Regions from separate parts of the Homo sapiens genome. Here region 1 is linked to region 2. The links are contacts of gene promoters, found by promoter capture Hi-C in blood cells and fetal thymus (Javierre and others, 2016). All regions are on one chromosome and are shown on one strand. Each heading gives the region's core, a stretch centred on a gene start or on the middle of the fragment in contact. The rest is flanking DNA. Distances are from core to core; before and after follow the strand shown. Region 1 overlaps SLIT1 (slit guidance ligand 1). Region 2 holds the start of OPALIN (oligodendrocytic myelin paranodal and inner loop protein).

The links. The method cuts DNA at HindIII sites, captures the fragments that hold promoters and counts their contacts. A CHiCAGO score of 5 or more calls a contact.
Region 1: a contact is called between a fragment that was not itself captured here and the fragment with the promoter of OPALIN in region 2, in 1 of 17 cell types (neutrophils). The highest score is 5.7, in neutrophils.

The regions. Positions count from the first base shown.
Region 1 is chr10:97,072,591-97,078,376 of GRCh38, forward strand. The region is part of intron 4 of SLIT1 (slit guidance ligand 1); the gene reads right to left. Among named protein-coding and RNA genes, the nearest start is that of SLIT1-AS1, 27 kb to the right of the region's middle. RefSeq lists a silencer at 242-536. The HindIII fragment of the contact is 3,743 bases long and covers 430-4,172 here.
Region 2 is chr10:96,356,915-96,363,075 of GRCh38, forward strand. It overlaps OPALIN (oligodendrocytic myelin paranodal and inner loop protein), which reads right to left and starts at 2,088. Exons shown (of 6, transcript NM_033207.5): 1 at 1,980-2,088. The coding sequence starts at 1,982. The HindIII fragment of the contact is 2,651 bases long and covers 315-2,965 here.

The sequences.
Region 1 (5,786 bases), core at 1,051-3,550, 720 kb after region 2:
GGAACTGTCCCACCCTGGCCAGTCAGCCCACAGCCGGAACCAGCCCTCATCGTTTAAATGAAGACAGGAAAGTGAATTTGGGGCCCCAGGAGAGGCCAGAGGAAAACAGGTGAACCTTGGAAGCCTCAGGAAAATGCAGCCTGATGGCAGCAAAGCGGGTGGTAGAAGGAGCCTGCACCTGTAGAGAGAAGGACCAGGTTCAACTCCTGCTTCTGCTATTGACCAACCATGGACCTCGAGAAGTTCTGCACCTGAGAGCTTCAGGTGTCCTATTTGTAAAATAACTACCACGTGGGACTTTGGAGAAGATTGTGAATTGATGTACTTAAGCTTCTGAATCACAACCTCCATTTAGCAGCATTCAAGAAATGCGGGCTGTTGTCCCTGCCCGAAGCACAGCCTAAGCAACCCTAAGGCTCTGTTGTTTCAAGCTTTCCCACGAGGGGGCGCCAGAAGCCTTCCCTGGACCTGGATGCCTCAACCACATCGCAAACTAGCAGAACAAAGCTATTCTCTTTTTTTTTCTTTTTGCTCCAACTGACTTCCTACCTTGCCAATACTTGTCTCATCTTTCCCAAATCCCTTTGAAATAAAGTTTATCATGTCTTCTGCCCCTGGTCTGTGTGGAAACCCCCCAAAAGCACCACCTAAGCCTTTCCCCATCAGTTTTCCGGGAGCTCTGGGCCACCTTCATCTTCCTCAGACCCAGTCATTGCTGCCCGTCCTCCTCCCACGCGGCCTTGTCAAACGCCCTGAAGTGAGGAGATGGCCAGGATGTGTCTGGGCAGAATGAGACACCCTGAGAACTGCCGTCCTGGAAGCGGGCGGGATCTGCGACTGGAAGGACAAACAGCCAAGCCCAGGGCAGCCAGGGCCTGTCCCAGCCCGGGGAAGCGGAGCCAGACAGGGGTTCAGAAGGAGGGCAGGGGCAGGACAGTGACGAGGGCACCATGACAGATCCCCAGAGTCAGACCCAGGACAGCGCTGGGGAGATACAGGGCTGGGGCAGAAGCTGAAGGGCGGGACAAGGTCCCAGACTTCTGACAAGCACCTGGGGGATGCGGGGATGCTGGTCCAGGGAGCACTCACGGAGAGGCCAGGGTGCTGAGGACAAAGCCCACAGCTGGGTGTCACAGGGGAGACTTGGCTCCACTCACTTAAATCGTGTGGTCTCGGGCAAGTCATGTAACCTCTCTGGCCCCAGTTTTCTCATCTGCAACATGGGGATGGAAAGCGGCACTTATGTTGCAGGATCTGATGGGAGAGGTGCCGCTGCCTACTCCCTCACCTCTGCTGACATTCCTCCAGTTTCCCAGACCCCTCCTGACATCCACAGGACCTGTGTACTTGCTGTGGCTTCTGCCTGGGATACTCTTCCCTCACCTTCACCCAGGAAACGCTATTTATCCTTCACACCTCAGTCTACAAACACCTCCCCTGAGCCTGAGTCAGCTGCTCTATCTGCAACAGGCTCCTAGCACCCCCACTTTTACTTTTCGGCACAACCCAGGCTTGTAATAAAATACAGGTGCACCGAATGTGATGAAGTACTGACTCTGGTGAACGTCCATCTCCCTCTCCAGACCATAACCTCCCAGCAGACACTCTCCTTCACTTTCCCTTATATCCTGGCACATTGCAGAGACTTAGTAATTTTTAGCTGAATGAACTAAAATGGATCCTTACATGAGTCCTCTGCTCTAATCCCTCTCCGTTTTCCCGGCCAAAACAAGTAGTTAGGACTGGCCAAGGGAGAGGCAGGAGCTCAGGGCCAGACAGGCTGGCTGTGCATGGCGAGAGACCACAGCTCCCCACCTATGCTGCGGCCACTTGTACCTGCTCTGCCTAACCAGGCTGCAGACCCAGTGAGATGCAGGCTCAGAAGGGGAAGGCAGGCACGAGCAAGCACTTGTTATTGTGGATGATGTAACAATCGCACCTCTTCCCTTCACACATCCTTCAGGATATTAACAACCAACACCCTCAAGTGGTTCCAAGTTCACACCAGCTCAAGGCAAGGGCCCTGCAGACAAAGCATGAACCCCATTGCCAAGATCAAGCACCCCAGGAGGCAAGCTCCACCAAGAGCAGCCCCCACTTGGCCTGGAAGCATCGGGCAACCCCAGTCGGCCGCCCGCCCCTGAAGACAAGGGGGCCGCCAGGCCCACACCCTGACTTGGCACCATCCCCAGGCACCCTGCTCTGGCTGCCCCTCCTTCTGCACACTCTGCCAATCCCCCCATCCTCTCCCAGGGCTGGAGGAGGCAGGGGTTGGGGAAGCTGAGGTCAAGACCCCATGTTCTGGCTGCTAATCTGCCTTCACGCTCTAACCTGATTGGTCCCTGCTGGCAGACCAGCCTCTAAGGGGATTAGCAGTGGGGGCAGGGGTGGGAGTACACAGAGGGCTGCTGGGCACCTGCCAAGGCTGGACTGGGCTCTGGGTTCTTGCTGCCCACTCGGGCGCCACTGCAGGGCACAGGCCTTACTTTGTCTGCCTTTCATGCCACATGGAAGCTCTGGGCAGCCTGGCCTGTCCCCTCGGCCCCCTGCAGCCCGAGTGGTTACCTTGAACCAGGGCACCCCAAGGGTACCAGGGCACCTCATCTGGGGGCTTAGATCCTTGTCAGAAGATGGTTGGATTAAGGACTCAGGCTCTGGCCTCATGCACATCTTCTAACCCCCAAGCCTCAGTCTTCTCATGGTAAAATGGGAATAATTATCATATGGCTTAACCACAGCTGAGTGTGGGGCCTCAGCCAGGACTGGCAGAGTTGGCTGCCATTGCCCACACTTTAATAATTGCCTTTTGGGCTCTGTAGGGAGGAGGAGGGAGGGTCAGGGCCTGGGAGTCAGGAGGCTGAGGCTCAAGGCCGCCAACCCACTCCATGACCTCTGGCAGGACCACAGTTAGTTCCCAACATCTGCAACAATACTGACCTCCCAGGGATGCTGGGAGGATGGGATTACATGCTGTGTGTGTCACACACTCAGCGTGCCCACTGGTAGCTGGTGCCAGCACGGGGCAGCCTCACACGACTGTTATCAATAAGTGGCTGCCCGGGATTCCACTGCAGATAACTCAGCAAGTGAGTCCCTGGCACCTGGTGGATTGGCAGCATCGTCATCCCCGGGAAGTTTGATAGAAAAGCAGATTTTCTGGGTCCCACCTCCTGAGTCAGGATCCCTCAGTGTCTCAGGTGCACACTGAAGTCTGAGAAGTGCTGCCTCCAGCAGAGGAAAGGTGTAAAATGTTTTAATGTCCCCAGCTGGAGCCAAAGCAAACCAGATTATAACCTCTGTACTGGTTAGCATTTCAAAGCAAGGGTTGGAGGTGCCAACTCCTATTCTTTGGGGGCTGAGGTGGGGAGACTTAGACACAGACACCCCTAGTGAGTGGAGAGAGGGAAGAGCAGCTACCAACCCCTCAGCTGCAGCTCACCAAGGCCCGCCTTCCTGAGGAACAGAAAAGGCACCCACAGGGCTGGTGGGGGGCAGGGACCAGCCACTACATTTGTCCCACAGGCCCTTCCTGCATTTCTGCCAATTTGCATGGAAGATGCCTGAGGGCACGGGTGAGGAGCAGGTGTGGGGCTCCCTGGTGAATCAGCTCCAGCACTCACAGCAGAGGAAGACTTGGCATCTCCAGCATTGCCAGGAGGTCAGGAGTCCCAGCCCTGGCTCCCTGCTCAGGCCAGGGAATGGGAGACAGACTCCTAAGGACTGTCTGTGCTCCAGGGCCCTGCTGCAGGATGGCTTGGCAGGAGGGAGGCTATCAATACCCATGGGTGGGACGCTGGGATGCACATGCTGCTCAGAGATGCTCCTGGGATCTCGCTGGACCATCCCGCCTTTGTCTCTGCCGGTTCTTCACACCTCCCTTTAGATCCTATGCCTCCCACGTAGAAGGGGAATTAATTCTGCAAGTACCCCTCCCTGCCTGCTCTCTCCAGCCCATGAAACAACACTCAAGTGCCCCAGATCTACCCTGTGTGCATACTGCATGTGTGCACGCCTGTCTCCAGGTCAGGGACTAGGTCTAATTCACCTTCAAGGTGGGTTCTGGAGAGCATTCGATGATAAGAACCTGCATTGTGCTGCCTTGGGCCTCAACCCAGAGGCCAGGGCTTTGTCCACTCACAAACCTCAGGTGCTCCCAGAAGATGCAAGTAGAAAGCTTATCAGTCAGCTAATTCTCAGTGTGAATCTGTTTGTTTCATCTTCTCCAGAAGTTCAAGCTCAGGTAGGGGCCAGGGCCAGGGTGCAAAGCAGACCCAGCAGTGGTGTCAAAGAGACCACACTGGTGCAGTGAAGGGGGAGTGGGTCCCGCCTGCCACAAGCCCAGTTTCCTTTAATCTGGTCCTCTACTTCTCTGTCTTGTGAAAATACAGGACGGAACCGGGGGCCGTGGCTCACACCTATAATTTCAGCACTTTGGCAGGCTGAGGTGGGAGGATGGCTTGAGGCCAGTTTGAGATCATCATGGGCAACATAGTGAGTGAGAGCCCATCTCTCCAAACAGCTAACAAAATCAGCGAGACATGGTGATGTCTGCCTGTAGTCCTAGCTACTCGGAGGCTAAGGCAGGAGGATTGTTTGAGCCTAAGAGTTCAAGGTTACAGTGAGCTATGATCATGACACTGCACTCCAACTTGGGTGACAGAGTGAGACTCCATCTCTTAAAAAAAAAAATCACACAGGACAGGATAGATCCTGGGAGCTGCCTTTGCCACCTCCACTAGGCTTGGCTGCGGTCCTTTGAGTGGCAAGTTCCCCTTCCTAATCCTGGGTGCTCTCCTGCTCCCCTTCTCTGCAACCCTGACTGCCTTGAGCCAGACCAGCTGGAGCAGATGGCAGGGTCATCAGATCAGCGAGTTTCCCTAAAGGAAGTCTCAGGGCGCAGTAGCTAGTCTGGGAGCAGAGCCCTGCAGCCTGGATTCAAAACGAAGCTCAGCACCAACTGATGCCTCTTTGGGCCTCAGTTTCCTTTTCTGTAACATAAGTTTGTAAGAGGAGACTGGCACACGGTGGGTGACAATCAGTTGTATTGTCCGTGAGGCTTCCAACTGCCGCTACTAAATCCTGAGTGGTACAGCTCTGTGACTCTGACTGAAGAAATGACTGCTCCCTCTCCTTTACCACCTCTTCCACTCCTAAGAGAATGATAAGATTCACGGAATTAAAGCTCACACATGCTCTGTGAGGTCTGGAGATTTTTTTTCAATTATCGAACTACAGTCTGGGCACAGTGGCTCATGCTTGTAATCCCAGCACTTTGGGAGGCCGAAGCAAGAGGATCACTGGAGCCTAGGAATTTGAGGCAACCTGGGCAACATAGCAAGACCTGGTCTCCACAAAAATGTTTTTAAATAATTAGCCAGGTGTGTTAGTGTGTCTGTGGTCTCAGCTACTCAGGAGGCTGAGTTGGGAGGATTGTCAAGCCAAGGAGGTGGAAGCTGCAGTAAGCTGTGATCATGCCACTTCACTCCAGTCTGGGCAACAGAGTGAGACCCTATCTCAAAAATTTAAAAAATAAATAAATAAAATAAAATGTGGAACAGCCAACATGGTCCCAGGGAATTCCTGATGTCCAAGTTCCTGCAGGTGGTTTGGGGGCCTGACACTGTGGATGGTGGGGTCTGAGCTCTGCCCTTATTCATCCCACCCACATTTACTGAGCACCCAACATGTGCCAGGTCCCATCAGCTGGAGAGGTGCGCCCCTTCCCTGCCCACCGCGAAGCCACAAACCCTCCTGTGGCAGCCCCCTCCTTCTCCCTCCACCACCAC
Region 2 (6,161 bases), core at 838-3,337:
TGTCCCGGTGACAACCTCTTTCCACCACTCTGCAAGGCTTCCAAGCAACTCCAGTAGTCTCTGTGGATGAATCAGAGCACCCAGGCTGACAGCACTGTGCACCTCTGCTTCTGGGATGACGGTGGAACACAGGGACGTCTGGGCCTCTTAGGTCAGGGTCCTCTTGCTCAAGGGACCTAACCACTGCTCTTCACGCTAGCACCAGACCAACACGTGCTGCAAGGACACTGGATGGTCGCTGCACTGAATGCAGCTGCCCAGAGCTTTATCTCATCAGTGGGCACTGAGGACTGATGTCAGCAGCCCTAAGACAAAGCTTCCTTTGGGAGGACAGTAGAAGAGGGGGTGCAGCAACAAGTGGGCCATTGCATGTGTTGTTTATCAACATTCGGATGACGGAGATTTTGGCCAATTTCAGAAAGACACTCATATTTTGTAGAAACACAGTACAGTGCTCTCATGGAGAGAAAAACATCGCACAAATTAGGGTGGAGAAGAATCTGATGCAGTGCCCTTCAGAGACACAGCTGAGTGGGATGATGCAACCCTGAGCTTGGAGCCACCTGATCTAAATTCGAGCCCACACTTAGCCACTTAGGAGCTGTGTAGTCTTGGATAAGTCACTCAAACCCTCTGGTCTCCATTTTCTCACAACAAATCTATTCTCCAAGGCTCAGTTTTCCCATTCTCAAAATGGGATACTATTAACTTGCCTTGCCCACTTCACAAGGGAATACCGTAATGTCATCTGTGGCAGCTCCTTTCTCCCAAACTGTAAAACACCCTCTGTGTTTTAGGGATCACGTGGTAGCATATTCTTTATGGCCTGGCCAGCACAGAGCTAAGGATAGGAAAGTTCTTGTGGAATGGAATTGCAAGCATGAGTTAGTGATAGTCAAAGTACTAGAATTGGATACAATGCAATTATTGCTTACTGCTAGTCTGAGCACTATGCAGTATCTACACAATGATTCTGAAGGCATTTTGGGATCTCAGTGGCTGAACGTCCTTCATTATAAGTTTGCAGTTTGTGAGAGGAAGGAGGAAGAGACAGGATAAAAACTTACTGCTGTTGAAGGTGTGCTGGGTATAAGACCCCATACTCACAACCTCCCCATGAAGGGAGCACTATTATTCCTATATTATACCTGTGGAAACTGAGACCAAGATAGGTTTTTGCTCACCAGCTTTTAAGTGGTAGAGATCAGGTTAGATCACAGATCTCCCTAACTCCACAGACTGAGCTCTACTCCTTTTAACAATGCTTTTTGTAAAAAAAAAAAAAAAAAAAAAAAAAAAAAATTCCACAAGAAAGTGAGATTACACAATATTCTTCTTTTTGTGTCTGGCTTATTTCACTTAGCATAATGTTCTCCAGGTCCAAATAGGACAAACATGGCAAATGGCAGGGTCTCCTCCTATTCTAAAGCTAATATTCAGTTGTATATATACATATAAACCACAGTCCCTTTATCCATTCATCCACTGATGGACACCTAGGCTGTTTCCATAATTCTTTAGTAAATCACAGAACCCTCTTGTTTTCTCTTCTAACTTAGCAAACTTCATTTGATTGAGTCACAACAAAATATTTATCACAAGTAAACAAGAAAGATGGAAAATTTCTGATCAATGATGACCATCCATGTTGCTGATGATGGAACAAAAAGCCAGATTAAACAAGTAAGACAGATAAAATCGTTGATTAGATCCATTGCTTCAACTAGAAAGGGAACATAGGTGAAACATCTACTCTGTACTCTTGTATGTGGGGTTTTAAAAACAAACCTTAATACCAAAATGAAAGACAAGATCAGCAAATATTAGGTGAGAAGTTTAAAAAATTATTGGTATTTTGCATATAGGAAAATAATTTAAAATAAAGTCCCTTTACTTCATTGTACATTTAATTGAATTTGGAGGTTTTTTATAGTAAGAAATGAAAGTTCGATTGAGAAGAGATGCCAGCTTTCACTCACCATTTCTGACAGTCTCCCAGGAACCTTCTTCGTACACTGCCTTTGGTAAGCTCCTTTCTCACTGGCTTTATTGGCTTGTGTCTTTCATTTGTAGGAACAGTTAACTGACAAAGCTGCAGAGGCAGGCTGAGAGGTGGCTCCAAGAGAACCCTGGCCAAGCCATTTATGGTCAGGGGAGTAGCCAAGCCCTCAGTCCATCCCTCGGGAAAGATGGGCTGCTGCTGCATGGCCGACGTGTATGGCCTGGTTCACCCACCCTCTTTGCCTTGATTTTCTGTCCTTACTTTTCAGGCTGCTTTCTTGGCTATACCTCCATCTCAGCAAAGAAGCCACAGCTGGCCTGAGAGCTTGGGGGCTTCTGCAGCCTGCAGCCCTTTGGAAACAATGGGTTACATGAGGCTGAGGCTGGCCACTCCATCCCCAGCTGACGGGAGTCCACATTAACCATGTTACTGATAATGATGGAGTCATTGTGTTACATGGACAACAGCATGGACATTCGGGATGTCTGGAGGAGGGGTGGGGGCCCATTCTGTTGCAGGAGTCACACTGCTGGGGGCTCCAGCTGCTGCAAGGTGCTGCACTCAGTGGCCAATGAGCTGCCTGGTGTGAGTTCAGCCTCACCCCCTCTCTGTTTTTGTATTTTGGGTGGGAAGCTCTCTAGACCTGGAGGAAGCCATGGACTTGGGCTGCTTTATAACTTACAATTTCCCTGTTAGGGATTTGCCTCTTTAAAATGGTGAATGAGTTGCTAATAAAACAACAGAATTAAACCAATAATTTGGCCATTGAAATGAAAACCACTGTGAGAGGAGCAGATAGGAGTGTAAGGAGAGAGCGACTCAAGTGACAGAGGAGGCCGTTGTTTAGATGACTCTGGGAGATGGCACTGAAGCTGTGCGTGAAAGATGAGAAGAGGGCAGACATGTGAAGGGTTGAGGGAGGAGAGTCCCAGGCAGAAGCCACAGCAAATGCTAAGCCCTGTAAGCTTGGTGCACTCCCAGAGCAGGCAGGAGGCCGGTTGGCTGGAACAACATAAACCAGGGAGTCACCCGGGAAGGGGCTAAGGACGGAGTGAGTTTGAGCCCTTTTGATGTGACATGGGAGGGCATGGTAAGATTTTCATCCTTAGATGAAACCTTTTCCAAGGGTTTTTCAGTGGGAGAGATGCATGATGTAATTGCTGGTGACGAGGATTGCTAGGGCTTCTCTGTGGAGCCAAGATTACAGGGGAAGAGAGTGGAAGCAGGTGGCTGGCTAGTGGAGTCCAGGTGAGCGATGAAGGTGGCTGCTGTAGGAAGACAGCAGTGAATGATTGTGCTCTCTACTGTGGAGGTGGAGCCACTGGGATTAAATGATGAAAAAAATATGGGGCGGGGAAGGGCGAGGTGAGGGAAAGAGAAGAATAAAGCCAACTCCTGGGTTTGAGGCTTGACTAACAAAAATGGAGATGCTATTAGCTTAGGCAGGTAATACTGGAGAAACAGATTGCCCTTACACCTGAGTAGCCTAGGGGCTGTCCAAGTGTGGGTGCCAAGTAGGCGACTGGATAAAGGGGATCTGGGGCTGAAGACATCCGTTTGGGAGTGGCCGGCCTGTGGATGGTTTTAAAGCCCCCGGTGTGCATGAGCAGGTAGACAGGGCAGAGGGCCAGGACAGCTGCCAGGGGTTCACAGACATTTAGCAGCCTGGAAGAGGGGGTGTCACTAGCAAGGAGAGTTGAGTGAGGCAGGAAAATCAGATAAGTTCGGGGGTCACAGGAAAGAAATTTGATTCAAGAAGGGGAGTAGATGTTGGTTAATTGTATCAACTGCTGCTGAGAGGTAGCCTCCGAAGAGGTCAGAAGAGCCTTCTGATTCCCAGTATCGGGGTTGCTGGTGGCCTTGACAAGAGCAGTTTAGTGGCACAGTGGAGACCAGATTGCCTTTAATCAGGTGGTTTTTCCATCCTGGTTGCATACCTGAATTACCTAGGGAGTGGTAGGGGGCTGGTTATAAAAACTCTTGATGCCTAGAACCTGCCCCCAGAGACTCTGACTTGATTGATCAGAGTGAGGCAGGGGCATCCCCAGGGGACGCTAACGAGCAGTCAGGGGTGACAGCTGCTGTTCTAATCAGTTCTTAGACTGTGGTAATCAGCCACCTGCAACATGGCCGACACTGATGCTATCCTAAACAAGACCAATGAGGCCTCTGCCTTGTGGGCTTCCAGTTTCCAAGACTCCACAGTGACAGCCTAAACTGAACCTACTGGTGACAACATGGTCTAGAGAGACCTCTGTTTAGAGCCACAGCTGCCCTACTGGAAGCTGCATGGTCTTAGGCAAGTGAAATAACTTCTTCCAGTCTGAGTCTTTTAATCTACAAAGCAGGGATGATACAATTTATGCAATTAGACTACTTGAATCAGCACAGCTCGTACAAATGATGCTTTTAATTTTCCTTGACTGGCGTAGAATCAACCTGGACCATAGAATTCCAGTTTATGGCCCCAGCACTCTCTGGCAAGGCTGTTTGTGGATGGGGAGGGCCACTGAGGTCCTTTTTGGCACTTTTGTTTGCTGTGCATCCACTGATCCATAACTCTGCCTTCTGATGGACACATTATCTCTTTAGAAGAATTGTTGACATCTTCAGGCAATTGGTACCCCTGCCTAAGTGTCCATCAGTCATGACTGCCCAGTCACAAGCATCAAAACCAGACTCTGCTTAATTTTTTGAAAAGGAAAATTTGGCCGGGCACAGTGGCTCACGCCTGTAATCCCAACACTTTGAGAGGCCTAGGCGGGTGGATCACCTGAGGTCAGGAGTTCGAGAACAGCCTGGCCAACATGGCGAAACCCCATCTCTACTAAAAATACAAAAATTATCTGGGCATGGTGGCACATGCCTGTAATCCCAGCTACTCGGGAGGCTGAGGCAGGAGAATCGCTTGAACCTGGGAGGCGGAGGTTGCAGTGAGCCAAGATCATGCCATTGCACTCCAGCCTGGGCGACAGAGCAAGACTCCATCTCAAAATACAATACAATACAATACAATACAATACAATACAATACAGTACAGTACAGTACAGTACAGTACAGTACAATACAATACAATACAATACAATACAATACAATACAATACAATACAATACAATACAGAAAAGGAGAACTTACTGACTGAGTATAGTGGAGCTCTCAGAAAGGACAGAGGGCTAGAGAACCAGGCTCTGGAAGGACAGAGTGAGGTTGCTCCCAAACCTTCAGCAGCAGCAACTCCCAGACGGTCTTTCAGAGGTGTCCTTCCAGGGAAACTGAGCTCCAAAATATCTCAGCCCTTTTGCCTCTCTGATCAGGACTCCAGTCCCAGGAAGAGGATTTGGTTGGTCTGGCTTGGTTCATATGGCCAAGGATGATGTACCACCTGGCTAACAGTCCCCCCAGTGAGGGTCCCTCCAATGGAAGAAGAGGTGGTTCTGCAAAATGAATTTGGCATTGTTACCTAAAGGAGAAGGAATGGATGAAGTGAGTAAGCTCTCCTTCTTTGGAAGTCGGGCCTGAGAATCATCTCCTTAGAAACCATAGATGGAATGCCCTTAGTGGGTGAAAGATTGGGGCCACCAACTCTGAGAATCTCGGATCATTTATATTTTGTCACCATTTAAATTTGTACAAGCCCAATCACATGGATGGTCTTCCCTGTAACAACCGGTCAGCTTAAAAAACTGGACCATTCTAAATGACAGGTGGCTGTCTTAGTCCATTTGGGACGCTAAAACAGAGCACCACAGACTGAGTGGCTTATAAGCAACAGAAAGTTATTTATCACAGTTCTGGGGGCTGGGAAGTCCAAGATCAAGGTGCCAGGAGATTCAGTGTCTGGTGAGGGCCTGCTTCCTGGTTCCTAGGCAGCTGTCCTCTCTCTGTGTCCTCACGTGGAGGCTGAGGGATCTCTCTGGAGCCTCATAACCTAATTACGTCCCAAAGCCCCCGCCTCTCAATACTATTACATGAGGGGCTGGGATTTCAATACATGAATTTTGTGGGTATACAAACATTGTTGCAGTGGCCTTGTTCTAATTTTTAGAAATCTTTATCTAAAATGTTAATAATAAGGTAGGGATAAAGTGAAATTTTAGAACAAACAGAAGAATTATAGTCATTTTCCTATCTACAAATGTCACATGTGAGAGTCATTACT